3 separate regions of the Homo sapiens genome follow, and all the other regions are linked to region 1. The links are contacts of gene promoters, found by promoter capture Hi-C in blood cells and fetal thymus (Javierre and others, 2016). All regions are on one chromosome and are shown on one strand. The core of a region is centred on a gene start or on the middle of the fragment in contact, and the rest is flanking DNA. Distances in the headings are between cores, read along the strand shown.

What was found. The method cuts DNA at HindIII sites, captures the fragments that hold promoters and counts their contacts. A CHiCAGO score of 5 or more calls a contact.
Region 2: a fragment that was not itself captured here is called in contact with the fragment with the promoter of BNIP5 in region 1 in 2 of 17 cell types (total CD8 T cells and naive CD8 T cells); the score reaches 5.8 in total CD8 T cells.
Region 3: a contact is called between a fragment that was not itself captured here and the fragment with the promoter of BNIP5 in region 1, in 1 of 17 cell types (total CD8 T cells). The highest score is 5.1, in total CD8 T cells.

The regions. Positions count from the first base shown.
Region 1 is chr6:36,334,923-36,339,335 of GRCh38, forward strand. BNIP5 (BCL2 interacting protein 5) reads right to left here and starts at 1,966. Exons shown (of 12, transcript NM_001010903.5): 1 at 1,790-1,966. The HindIII fragment of the contact is 11,027 bases long and covers 235-4,413 here.
Region 2 is chr6:35,999,733-36,004,145 of GRCh38, forward strand. It overlaps SLC26A8 (solute carrier family 26 member 8), which reads right to left. Exons shown (of 20, transcript NM_052961.4): 4 at 260-376. It overlaps LOC105375034 (a long non-coding RNA gene), which reads left to right. Exons shown (of 4, transcript XR_926746.3): 2 at 2,043-2,199. Among named protein-coding and RNA genes, the nearest start is that of SLC26A8, 23 kb to the right of the region's middle. The HindIII fragment of the contact is 4,645 bases long and covers 174-4,413 here.
Region 3 is chr6:36,049,564-36,053,976 of GRCh38, forward strand. MAPK14 (mitogen-activated protein kinase 14) reads left to right here. Exons shown (of 12, transcript NM_139012.3): 2 at 3,136-3,265. Among named protein-coding and RNA genes, the nearest start is that of MAPK14, 24 kb to the left of the region's middle. The HindIII fragment of the contact is 837 bases long and covers 2,132-2,968 here.

The DNA of each region.
Region 1 (4,413 bases), core at 716-3,215:
GGTCTCACTATGCGGAAACCCAGCTGATCTTGTAAACTTGTTATTGCCTTGGCCGAAAGTGGATGTCAGAGCAAAGTCCAAATCAGCTCAGAAATACCCAAGTGATCTGCACATCACAAGACTGCTTCTGATAAGATGTGACATTTACCGGTGACATGTCCAGCAACAGCAACAAAGAACCAGAGAAGGCTCACAAAGCTGACCCTGGAACGGGAAGTTTGCTTGCCTTCCCCAAGCTTGCTGCTGTGTGTTGTTTACTTTCTAAGTTGCACGGTGACCTCATCTCTATGCTGTTCTCTAATTTGTTCACCTGGCCGCGTTACTCTCTAACTGCTCTGGTGCCTTTCATGGAGATAACTTCGCGGCTCCCCTTCTCCACCCCATGATTCACACAATAGAAACTTCACAGAGAGCCAACCTGCTGCACACCCACAGCAGCACCCTGAGGGACAGAGTGTGTGGCACACACACGTGGACCCACAGTCAACACCACAGACATCCACGTGTCACCAGAACACACTTGTGCACACCACAGACCAACATGGACTCAAGACGCCCTGTATTTCTCCTGTCCCAAGTGTAAGGGAATAATTATGTGACCAAGCTCACCGCTTGCCATCGGTCCTAACTCTAAATTCCATGAGAGGGGACCTGAGCCTGGGAGGCTCTCAGTGTTTGTGAAACAAACAAATGATACACAGGCATGTGCAAACCCAAACCAGCTCACCTTCATGCAGCCACACGGCGTCCAGAGAGCCGTTTCATTGACATGATCTCATTTCATCTTTGCCAGGAGCAGTGAATCAGATGGGCTAACAGTGGGGCACTGAGGCTCCGGACCATTAAGAGACACGCCCAAGGTCACATAGCCGGGAAGCAGAGAGCTGAGACTCTCCCACTTCTCCCGATTCAAATCCTACATTCTCTATTCTACACCAAATGGCCTCATGTAAGCATAGATACACATGCACGCACTTACACATGGACTTAGGGGAGAAACCTGCTATTTCACACTGATGGAGGTAATCACAGTCACATACACACCTACCATGACCTATGCACATGGAGTCACACAATCACGTGTGCCTAGGTATAGACACCCATGCCCTCCCCACCCCATTCTGTCCTCTATCCAAGACCACGGGCAATGCAACACTGTGTGAGGAGTCGGTCAGGACTGTGGGTTATAATCCACCTCCCAGCCTCTACATTCCCATCCAAGAGAGCAGTAGACCATGAGTTATTTTAATAAGATTTCCCCATTCTTGGACTAACTTCCAAAAACCTTAAAACTCATAGAACCTTAATTTAACCATAGGTCATAATAACACCTCTCATTTATCAGGGGGTTCCCTCATGTACCTTCACATAAAGTCTATAACTTGACCTCTACCACATCCTGAGGGAAACTAGCAGGTGAGCTATGTAATGCTGCCCCATCCTACAGACAAGAAAACTGAGGCCCAAGGAAGTGAAGTTCCTTGCTCAGGGTGGCGGCTAATAAGCAGGATTGGGACTTGAATACAGAGTTTTAAGTCCGAGTGAGCCCAGAGCCCTTTGAGAAACACCCCGTTGAGATAATGTCATTGAACCTTGCTCCCTCTTTTTAGAGATAAGAAAACTGATCCCCCACCTCCACCCCCATTGCCTCTCTGGGAGGGCCCAGCATGCTGGAAGCAGCATTGGGACTGGACTCTTGGTTTGACACCCAGGACTAAACTCTTCTCCGGACCCCAAGATACATACCCACTGCTCCCGCCCCCAAAGGAGAGGGTATTGTTCAACCAACCTTGGACCACAGAAATCGCTTCTGTCCTGAACACCCTGGGCTGGGATCTTCAGACAAGAGGTCTCTGTGTTAGGCTCTGCTCCCTGTCAGCTGGAAGTTGTGTCCAGTGAGAAGTCAGACCCAGCTCTCCCAGGGAGAAGATGCCACTACTTTGGTGCTGGCAATTTTCTGAGTGTCTCAGAAGATGCTTTGGCCGTCCATATATACAGTATCTCCCAGGAACTGAGCTCATGGCAGCCAATCCAGAGAGCCATGGGCTGGCTCACCTTCCTCCACCTGTTACCACCCATCCCAGGACTGCTCCCCGCTCCTCCAATGATAAGAGGCTTAGCTCAGCTACCCTGGAAAAAACAGTTTCACTTGTCAACTTCCTTATTGCACCCAAACCCCAGTAAGAAACCAAAGCTCAGAAAATAACCTAAGGTCTGGCTGGGGAAAACCCCACCTGTAGAGTTGAAAACAAGACTTAATGGGAAATGCAGGTTAGGGGGAGAAAGTCGAGGTGGCTTTATTGCCTTTACAACATCCCTCAGTTATCTTTGAAGATTAGTGGGGAGGGAGGTACCTAGAAAGAAAGGTCAGCGATGGGATACATACATCCCTTGACCTGGAGACAACCCAGAAGGAAGAGCCCACAAGAGCCACGTGTTCCAGATCTGCTATGCCCGGGAAGGGTTGCCATGGATCTTGAGAGAACATTCTAAGAAGTCTTAAAAAGTCAGATTTCCACTTTCTGTAATGCCTTATTTTAAAAAATAGAGTGTAAATACATGTTTATAATCAGAAAAGAAAAACATGTTTTATTAAAATGAAAGCAAAGGCCGGGCACGGTGGCTCACACCTGTAATCCCAGCAATTTGGGAGGCTGAGGCAGGCGGATCACCTGAGGTCAGGAGTTCGAGACCAGCCTGGCCAACATGGCGAAACTCCATCTCTACTAAAAATACAAAAATTAGCCAGGTATGGTGGCAGACACTTGTAATCCCAGCTACTTGGAAGGCTGAGGCAGGAAAATCACTTGAACCCAGGAGGCAGAAGTTGTAGTGAGCTGAGATCGTGCCACTGCACTCCAGCCTGGGTGACAGAGTGAGACTCTGTCTCAAAAAAAAAAAAAAAAAAAAAAAGAAAAAAAAAGAAAAAAATATTAAGAAATTCTGTTTTGGTTCATTAACACAGGGAGGCATCACAAAATATATATGGAAGCACCAAACTTTGGAGTCAGCCCCATCTGGAGACACCTGCCAGCTGTGTAACCACAGCAGGGGACATGATGTCACTGAGCTTGTGCTCACTTATAAAACAAGTAGTCATCTCAGAGGGTAGTTGGGCCAAATGCGATAATGCTTACAAAGAAAAGAAGAAGGCCAGGCATGGTGGCTCACATCTGTAATCCCAGCACTGTGGGAGACCAAGGTAGGAGGATTGCTTGAGCCCAGAAGTTCAAGACCAGCCTGGACAACATAGTGAGATCTTATCTCTACTAAAAATTTTAAAAATTAGCCAGGCATGGTGGCACATGCCTGTAGTCTCAGCTACTCAGGAGGCTGAGGCAGGAGGATTGCTTGAGCCCAGGAGGTCAAGGCTGCAGTGAGCCATGATCGTGCTACTGCACTCCAGCCTAGGCAACAGAGTGAGATCCTGTCTCAAAGGAAAAAAGAAGAAAGGAAGGAAAGGAAGGAAAAAAAGAAGGAAAGAAAGGAAGAAAGGGAGGGAGGGAGGGAGGAAGGAAGGAAGGAAGGAAGGAAGGAAGGAAGGAAAAAGAAAGAAAGAAAGAAACAAAGAAAGAGAAGGAAAGGAAGGAAGAAAGAGAAGGAAAGGAAGGAAGGAAATGTATGGAGTGCCAGACATCTTTCTTTCTGTGTATTAACAGTGCCTGGTACTTGTAAGGGCTCAATAAAGGGCCAATGTTTTATTACGGGCAACAGAGTTATTAATGCTTCATTCATTCTGTCAACAGGTTTTGGATCCAGCTATGTGACAGACACTGTCTCAGCACTAAATTTAGAATTTATTAGTCCAAGAAGTCACTCAGCCTTCAAACAAATGTTAAATAATATTACATATTTTTCATTTATTTAATGAAACTATTGTGTCAACCACTTCTTCCAGGCCCTGTGTGTATTGTATGTGTTCTTTCTTATTCCAAGGTGAATATGCCCAGCCTGGCCCAGCCCTCATGGAGTCCATAAAGTAGTTGGGAAGAGAGAAACACACAGAGAAAAATCATACAAGCAAGCAGAAGGGAATAGGAAGTTGTTTAATGCGTACAGAGTTTCAGTTTGAGAGGAATGTGGTACCACTACCTCCACCATTCAACCATCTCCACAACTTTTGAGATGTGGAGGATTTTCACAAGGCACACTCAAACTCAACTTTTGAGTTTGGAGATGGTTCAATGGTGGAGAGTGGTACAACAATCAAAATGTGCTTAATGCCACTGCACCGTACACTTTAAAAAGGTTACAACAGTCAACTTTATGTCATGCATATTTTACCACAATAAAAAGAAGGGGAGGGGCAGACAGCCACGTGGCACACCGTGCAGACATCTCCCATGTACCCAGCAATCCCATCTGCAGGTACATACGCTCCTAGGTTCTCACGGGAGGGAGAACCATCATGGG
Region 2 (4,413 bases), core at 1,246-3,745, 330 kb before region 1:
TGATGATTTCTTAAGGAAAGTACCTCTGCCCTTTAATTTCTTTGGGAAACATCTTGCTGGCCTGTTTTCTGGTGTTGACAATAATGATACACTAGAAGTATTTATTTCTACAATCTGAACACTAACTGTATGGATAGAATGTCCACCTCCTGCCTCCTTTCTTTCTATCTTAAAGCTTTATGTTGGGTACCTTAGCAATAAGTATATGATCAAGATGGAAACTTCATCCACCGCATGTGTATTTCAGTGCTGAACTCACCAATGGACATTTGATGACACGATCCAAAAATTACATAGATTACCGAAGAACAGAAAGCTGCATAAGCGATGTTGAGAGGAGGAATCAGTTGCCTTGCCAGCAAACTAAGTGTCAGGCCTGAAAAACAAGATAATTTAAGAAAAAGCAGCTTGTCTTTAAAAGTCACCTTAAATAAAAACTGTAAAGAATATTTAAAATAAAAATCATCCATGTGTATAGCTGACTGAGTGTGGTAATAGTATTTCTGGACATACAATCCTTCATTAGCACTTTTTATTATCTTCTTTGATTCCTAGCTTCTCTTCCTATTTTGCCACATGCTTTTACACTTTAATTCAATATCATAGGCTGAAACATCATTCACTGCAAGGTCTTAATACTAAACATGTAAAGCAAATACCATAGCAATAAGACCCCTAATTCCAACAGCTCAAAAGCAGCCCCATCCTTATGCCTAGTCTAGCACAAGCAGGCCGTGGGAATTCTCCAGGGCTGAAGATAAAACTGGAGAGCAAGGCAAGAATCACACTTCACTGACTTGAAGTTGGTATGTGTTGGTTCTCTTCCATAGGCCAATCACTCCAGCCTCTTCCTTCAGCTGCTTCTCTAATACTTACTTTCTTTTCTAAGAAGCACCATGAGAATTTGGAAATTTTGAAGCAAATGGACTAACAGGCATAGTGTCATCCTTTTGATGTTTCAAGCCCCTATTTCCTTCCCTAAGAGTCTGTCCTCAATTTACATCATACTGATATACTCATCTAAATTCAGTTATGAATTTAGTGAGGTGGTTTATTGTCTTAGATAAGCAAGGCTCCTTTTTATAAGACATTTCAAACACATCCAAAAATAGAGTATAATGAATTCCATATACCCATCATCCACTTCAACAATGGTTAACCCATAACCAATCTATGCTTCTACTCCTCTCTCACCCTATATTACTTTGAGGCAAATCCAAGGCATTCGATTATTTAATCTGTAGATATTTTGGTATGTGTCTCTAAATGATAATACTCTTCTAATTTAAGTACAATATCATCATTATCCACTCAGTGTTCAAATTTCCCTGATTATCTTACAAATGATTGTTGTGGTAGAGGGTCTCTAATATGATCCACAATGGCCAGTTGGTATTCTTTTTCTTTTTTTTTTGAGACGGAGTCTTGCTCTGTTGCCCAGGCTGGAGTGCAGTGGCGCGATCTCGGCTCCCCGCGAGCTCCACCTTCTGGGTTCATGCCATTCTCCTGCCTCAGCCTCCCGAGTAGCTGGAACTACAGGCGCCCACCACCATGCCCGGCTAATTTTTTATATTTTTAGTAGAGATGGGGTTTCACCGTGTTAGCCAGGATGGTCTCGATCTCCTGACCTCGTGATCCACCCGCCTCGGCCTCCCAAAGTGCTGGGATTACAGGCGTGAGCCACCGCGCCCAGCCAGGCCAATTGTCTTCTTGCCCTTGTACAATTTCCTCCCCATTAAGTGTGGAATAGACTTAACCAATTTGTTTCTAAGGAGTAGACTATAACAAAAATGACAGGATGTCACTTCTGAGATTAGGTTGCAAAAAGACTTTGGTTTCCATCTTGGTTGCTCTCTCATTCAGGTCATTACCTGCCAGAGGTGGCTTCAAAGGTTTGTAATCTATGCAGTCAAGACAGAGTCCTGGGCTTAGAAGGACTTTGCACTTCGTTTAATGCTTTGCTGTCACTGTCTTGAAATTCTGAATAATTTTTGAACTAAGGGCCCTGTGTTTTTATTTTGTATTGGGCCCAACACATATAGTTGGTCCTGCCAGCTGCCATGTTGTGAATATGGAGAAGCCAGAATGGGGAGGAACTCAGGCCTGCCAACAGCTGCATGAGTGAGCCTGGAAGCAGATCCTCCAGCCTCAGTAGACCCTTGAGATAACTGCAATCTCACGAGAGACCTCGAACCAGAGGTATGATGAGTTTTGGGGTGATCTTTAAAAAATTATTTGCTGTTACATGTTGTGCTTTGCTTCACAATCTGTGTGTCTAAATCAGAACCCAAATATGGTCCTCACATTGGTTGATATGTCTCTTAAGTCTCTTGTAATCTATAGGATTTTTTCACCACATTTTTTCCCCTATGCAAGGCTCTATTGATTGCAAGTAACAGAAAATCTACTCAAATTAGCTTAAGCAAAATAGGAAATTTATTAAAAGGGTACAAAGGGCAGTTAGACCTCATCAGAGACTGGAACCGAACTAAAAAGCCATCAGAATCCAAGGTTGCTACCTTCCCATTCTCTTTGTTTCCAGGGTTCATGGTATCCTGTCTTTGTTTCCAGTTTGGGGCTATTATGAACAATATTGCTATGAATATTCTTGTACATGTCTCCTGGTACATGGATTTACAAGTTTCTTGAGAATATATAGCTTGAATTTCAACTTCTGGGGCATTTACTAAATAGTGCCAAACTGTTTTCCAAATGGTTGTGCAATTTATACTCCCACCAGTAATGTATGACAGTTCCCATTATCCACATCTATGCTAGCACTCGATACTGCTAGATTTTTAATTTTAGTGTGTATGGTGGTAACTCATTTCAATTTCATTTTCCATTTTATTACTAATAATGTTGAGCACCCTTGTCTAGTTATTTTTATGGATTTATAGGAGTATGTATATTATAAATAAAGCCTTTGTTGCGTATTGTTTTGCAAGTATCTCCCATTTTGTGATTTGCTTTTCAATCTTTTTTTTTTTTTGAGATGGCATCTCTCTCTGTCTCCCAGGCTGGAGTGCAGTGATGATCTTGGCTTGCTGCAACCTCCACCTCCTTGTTTGAGCGATTCTCCCACCTCAGCCTCCTGAGTAGCTGGGACTATAGGCGCACGCCACCATGCCCGGCTAATTTTTGTATTTTTAGTAGAGACGGGGTTTCACCATGTTGGCCAGGCTGGTCTCAAACTCCTGACCTCAAATGATTCACCCACCTCAGCCTTCCAAAGTGCTGGGATTACAGGCATAAATCAGTGTGACTGGCCGCTTTTCAAACTTTATAGCAGCTTTGAATAGATAGAAGTTCTTAAATTGTACTTACCTCAGATTTATCGGTCTTTTCCTTTGGGCTTTTCCTTTTGCTTTTGGTGTCTTACTTAAGAAACCTTTTTCTACCTCAGGATCATAAAGATATTCTCTTATGTTATTCCAAAATGTCTTTTTTGCTTTAACTTTTACATTTAGGTCTTTAATCAACCAGGAATAGATTTTTGTGTATGGTGTGAGGTAAAGGCCTGAAATGTTTTTCTTTATAGAGACCCAAGTGTTTTACATCATTTGTCATTAACAGCCTGTCTCTGTAGTGACATATCTGATACACATCATGTGATTCATATACGTGTGACTCTTTTTTCTGTTTCATTGGCCTAATTGTCTATCTCTGCAATATTGTACTGTGTTAATTGCTCTAATTACTTTAGTAATAGTTTTGGTAATTAATTTAGTAATCTCCATTTTTATTGTGAAATATAACATGCATGTAGAAAATGCATTAAAATAGATTAATAGATGTCAAGGTTACTTAATATTTATAAAACAAACACTTACGTAAGTACCACCCAGGTCTTTGATTACAACACCACCTCTCCCCACAGAAGGATTCCTTATTTTGGCGTTTATGATAATAATTTCTTTTCTTTTCTTTTTTTCTTTTTTTTTTTTGAGACAGAGTCTCACTCTGTTGCCCAGGCTGGAGTGCAGTGGCACAATCTTGGCTCACTGCAAGCTCCGCCTCCCGGGTTCACGCCATTCTCCTGCCTCAGCCTCCTGAGTAGCTGGGATTACAGGTGCCTGCCACCACGCCCAGCTAATTTTTTGTATTTTTAGTAGAGATGGGGTTTCACCATGTTAGCCAGGATGGTCTCGATCTCCTGACCTCATGATCTGCCTGCCTCGGCCTCCCAAAGTGCTGGGGTTACAGGCGTGAGCCACCATGCCCGGCCTATTTCTTTGCTTTTCTTTACCAGTAGTGTACGTATCCCTACACAATACAGTTTAATTTGCTCCCATTTTGAACTTTATATTAAGAGTTATACTGAACACAATTTTATTTCTGCTTTTTTTTTTTTTTTTTTTGAGACAGAGTCTCGCTCTGTTGCCCAGGCTAGAGTGCAGTGGTGTAATCACA
Region 3 (4,413 bases), core at 1,300-3,799, 280 kb before region 1:
CTTATAAATTCCCAGGTGAAACTGATGCTGCTGATCTGGGAACCTCTGGTGTAGGTGACTTTTTTGGAGAATTTTAACTGTGATGGAGAACTGTTAAGGGAAGTCTTTTGTTTGTTGGCTGAAGGCGGTAAACAAGTAGAGCAAATTTATGCTGATGAGAATGGTCCAGTAGATAGGGAGACACTGATGATGCAAGAGAGAAGAGGAATGAAGAAGTGAAATCCTTGAGAAGATGAGGGAGGTGGCTCCAAAGCATGTATTGTGGTCTTGAATTTTGATAAGCAGGGGCATATTCTTAGTTATAGCAAGAGGGAAGGTGGAGACGATGGGTTTATAGATTTGGGGCTAAGCAAATGGAGCTCCCCTCCTGATGGTTTCTGTTTTCTCAGTGAAGGCAAGGGCAACTCTTGAGGGAAGAGGGTGAATTGGAGATTTGAGAGAGAACATGTCAAACGATCATTTTCGAGTAGGAAAATGAACTTACTAGAAGAAAATGGCTTTATTGAGAGCCTCTTTGAGATTAAGGTCAGAAACTAAGAATGAAAATCTGATTCTACAGTCTTTCTTGTTCAACCTCAGTTCCTTGGATTCAGTCATGGAGAATTAAGTGGTTGAGATTACCCAAGGTTAGACTTTATCCAGGTGAGTACATCAGAGAGACAGACAGACAGAGAGAGAGAAGTGCAAGGGAGTGATTATAATCATGGAACAGGAAGGGAGATGAAGACAGAAGAGGGCTGAAGGATAGAAACAAGCAATGACAATGAGGTTAACAAATTGTTGTAGTCAGGGTACAAGTAAACTAGAGGTAACTAGGTTTTTGATGAAAAGCAAATGCTGCTGGCATTCAAAATTTTGTAGGTGGGGCAGTTTTTGGTAGGAATAAAGGTCTAGAATGTGACCATGAAGATGGCTGGGTGTGGTGGAGTTTCCTAGAGAGGTCAGGAAACAGGATGTTGGGTGTGCCGTTCACCTGGATGTTGAAGTTGCCAAGAATGATGACAGAAGTTGAGAGTGTAGAGAGATCTTCTGGATAGAAACTAACTTTTCAATGAATGATGGAAAATTTCAGGTCAGTGGATACCTGCAGCAGAGAGGGATAGTTTATCAGGGTTGTGAGCAGGAGGTATTTTATAGAACAAACGGAAAGTAATGGTCCTGAAGTGGTAACGGCTGCCAAGGAAGACTCCTACGCACCTGCTAGCCAGGAGGTATCTGGGCTATTAGAGAATGCTTTCTAATGGCAGGGCTATAAGAGAAGCAGTGTCTTCTAGAAATGGCCTAGTTTCAGAGATGGAGGGGAGGTTCAGAAAAGAGGTTGAAGATTTATAGGAGTTTATCACAAATTGGGATTTGAAGATTGAGGGTATGCCATAAAAGTTTGGGAGTGAAAGGAAGGGCACTGGAGTAGGTACAGAGTTGTAAAAGCAAGTTTGGCAGGCAGAGAGTTTGGTGATAACAGATGACCAGAAAGTCTTGGATACATGTTAGAGACTGAGACAAACTGGAGGATGAGGCATAATGGAACTGGCCCAGACAATTTCTGTTATTACTATTTTTTTTTTTTTTTGAGACCGAGTTTCACTCTTATTGCCAGGCTGGAGTGCGATGGTGCAATCTCAGCTCACTGCAACCTCCGCCTCCTGGGATCAAGTGATTCTCCTGCCTCAGCCTCCTGAGTAGCTGGGATTACAGGCACCTGCCACTGCGCCTAATTTTGTATTTTTAGTAGAGATGGGGTTTCACCATCTTGGTCAGACTGGTCTCGAGCTCCTGACCTCGTGATCCTCCCGCCTCGGCCTCCCAAGGTGCTGGATTACAGGCATGAGCCACTGTGCCTGGCGACGATTTCTAAAAATAATTAAAATACACATCGCATTTTTGCTATAGATGTCCTCCATGATCTAGCTGCTGCCTGCATCTCTTACGTCATCCCTTCCCACTCTCCCCTTGCTCCCTGTGCTCTACCCACACAGCCTTTCTGTCTTTCTGTCACTCACTCCAGCATGCCATACGTTTCCTACCTCTGTTTCTTTTTTCGTTTGTTTGCACTTGCTCTTCTGAGAGATAGCAGAGTCAAGTGGTCAGTAGCATAAGCTCTGGATCCAGACTCCCTGCTCTGCCGCTTTTAAGCTTTGTGACCGTGGTCAAGTTACCTAACTTCTCTCTGCTTCAGTTTCTTACTTGTAAGTGGGAGAATGATAATAGTACTTATTTCATAGGGGATTCGGGGAAATACAAAAGCTGAATTGAGACAAATAAATGTAAAGGGCTTAGAACAATTTCTTGTATGTGTGGGTAAAGACTCTATAAACATTAATATTATTATTATTTCTTCTGCTTGAAGCTCTTTTTCTTATATATTTATATAGGGAATTTAATCATTATATTGTTTCCTTCTCAGCTCAGATGTCATTCCTCAGCCATCCTAGCTAAAGTGGTATAACTCCACTGGCTTTCTGTCACTCTTTATCCCATTACCCTTTTATTTAGTCATAGTATTTTCATCACTACTTGAAATTATTTTATTATTCTGTTCTGCTCTTCCCCCATTCCCTGAAGGTGCCAAGTACTTTGTAGGTGCTCAAGAAATATTTGTGGCAATTTATTGTCCTGAAAACATGGTTTCCTGGGCCTCGACTCTGAGCAGGCAGCAGATGTGGCAAGGTGACGACAGTGAGGCCTAGGCAGGGAAGACAGAATTCAACTCTGTTTATTAATCTGTTGGCTCATCTAGATCAGGCAGCTGCCAGTTTTTGTAAATTTTATTAGAACACAGCCACACCCATTTTAAAACTTATTTTCTGGCTGCTTTCCTCATACAACCACAGAGTTGAGTAGTTGTGACAGAGGTCTTACTTACAAAGTTGAAAATATTACTATCTGGCCCTTCATTGAAAAAAATTTGCTGACTTCTGATTTAGATACATAGAAAAGACAAGGAGAAAACACCAAAAATAATAACAGAAGCTTTATTTGGATAATGGGATAATAGGTCATTTTGCTTTTTATCTTTATGCTTTTTTTTGGTATTTTGTTATAGACCCTTTAATTTGGAAATAGCCTTATAAATACCCCAAAATAATATTTAGAACAGCTTTTTAATGGTGGGTTTTTTCCCTTTTTTCTCCTTAGTGCTGCTTTTGACACAAAAACGGGGTTACGTGTGGCAGTGAAGAAGCTCTCCAGACCATTTCAGTCCATCATTCATGCGAAAAGAACCTACAGAGAACTGCGGTTACTTAAACATATGAAACATGAAAATGTAAGTTATTCATTCAAGGAAGAATACATTTTGATCTTGAATAGACTGGGGAAAAATGTTTTAATTACTGCAGATGGAAATACGCTGGAGTGCATCAAACGTTGGTCCCTGCTCCTTGTCCTGGGGTGTTAGTGGCCACTTGGTTATGTCAGGTCAAAGACTTGGAATGAAAGTGATGCATCTTCCTGGAGTTTTAGTTTTACTCAAAGATTTTTAGAGGAGAAAGAACTCTTTAAAATTTTAAAATTAAAGGATATGTTATGAAATACAACACAAAATTCACAATAATTTTTAAGAGAAAATATTAAAAAGAAGTTATGTATTCTTTGCCTGGTTTTCCTAAGGCTATATTATGAGAATATGGGAGTCTGTGGCTATTAAAAGACAAAATAGCCACAGACTCCCATATTCTCATAATATAGCCTTAATATTTTTAAGTGGAAAAATCTGAGAAAGAGTGCCTTAGGCTCACTGAAAGTCCTATCAGAGATGGCTATTATTTTATATATTTGTTAATAATTTTTCTTTTTTTCCAGATTCACGTATTTTAATAAATATGTCAGAGGCATTGTTTAAGTTAAATATAACTTTTTCTTTTTTACCAATTTGTTGATTCAGTTGCCATTCTGCAAAGATGCTTACAAATTCTAATACGATAAATAAGTGGATATAATTGGAATACTAACTGAAAGTAAAAAGACAGTTGACTGAAGACACTTATTTTACTGAATTTCAAAATCAAGTTATGAATTTCTGTGACTGCTATATGAAGGGTACTGTGAAGTTTGTAGCATTGTGGAAACAATGGCCATAGAGATTTCAAAGTCCTCTGGCTGTACTGCTTGTTACCTTGTGGAAGAAAATTCAAAATCTGTGAATTTATTATTTGACTATTTAGACTGTTTTAGTAATTTAACTTCTTCATAGCGAGAAAAAAGTCACAGATAAGTGACTCTTCATTAGCGTACATTTGTTTCATTAGTGCAAATTTCTTCTAAATTGAGAACATTAAGACTTAAATTTGTAATTGGATTATGGATGCCATTATAATCACAGCTGCTGCTTTTTATTTTCACATTTTATTTTGATTGTATGCTATTGAGGAAATCCTATTTCTACAGACAACTTCTATTCCTGAGTATAATTTT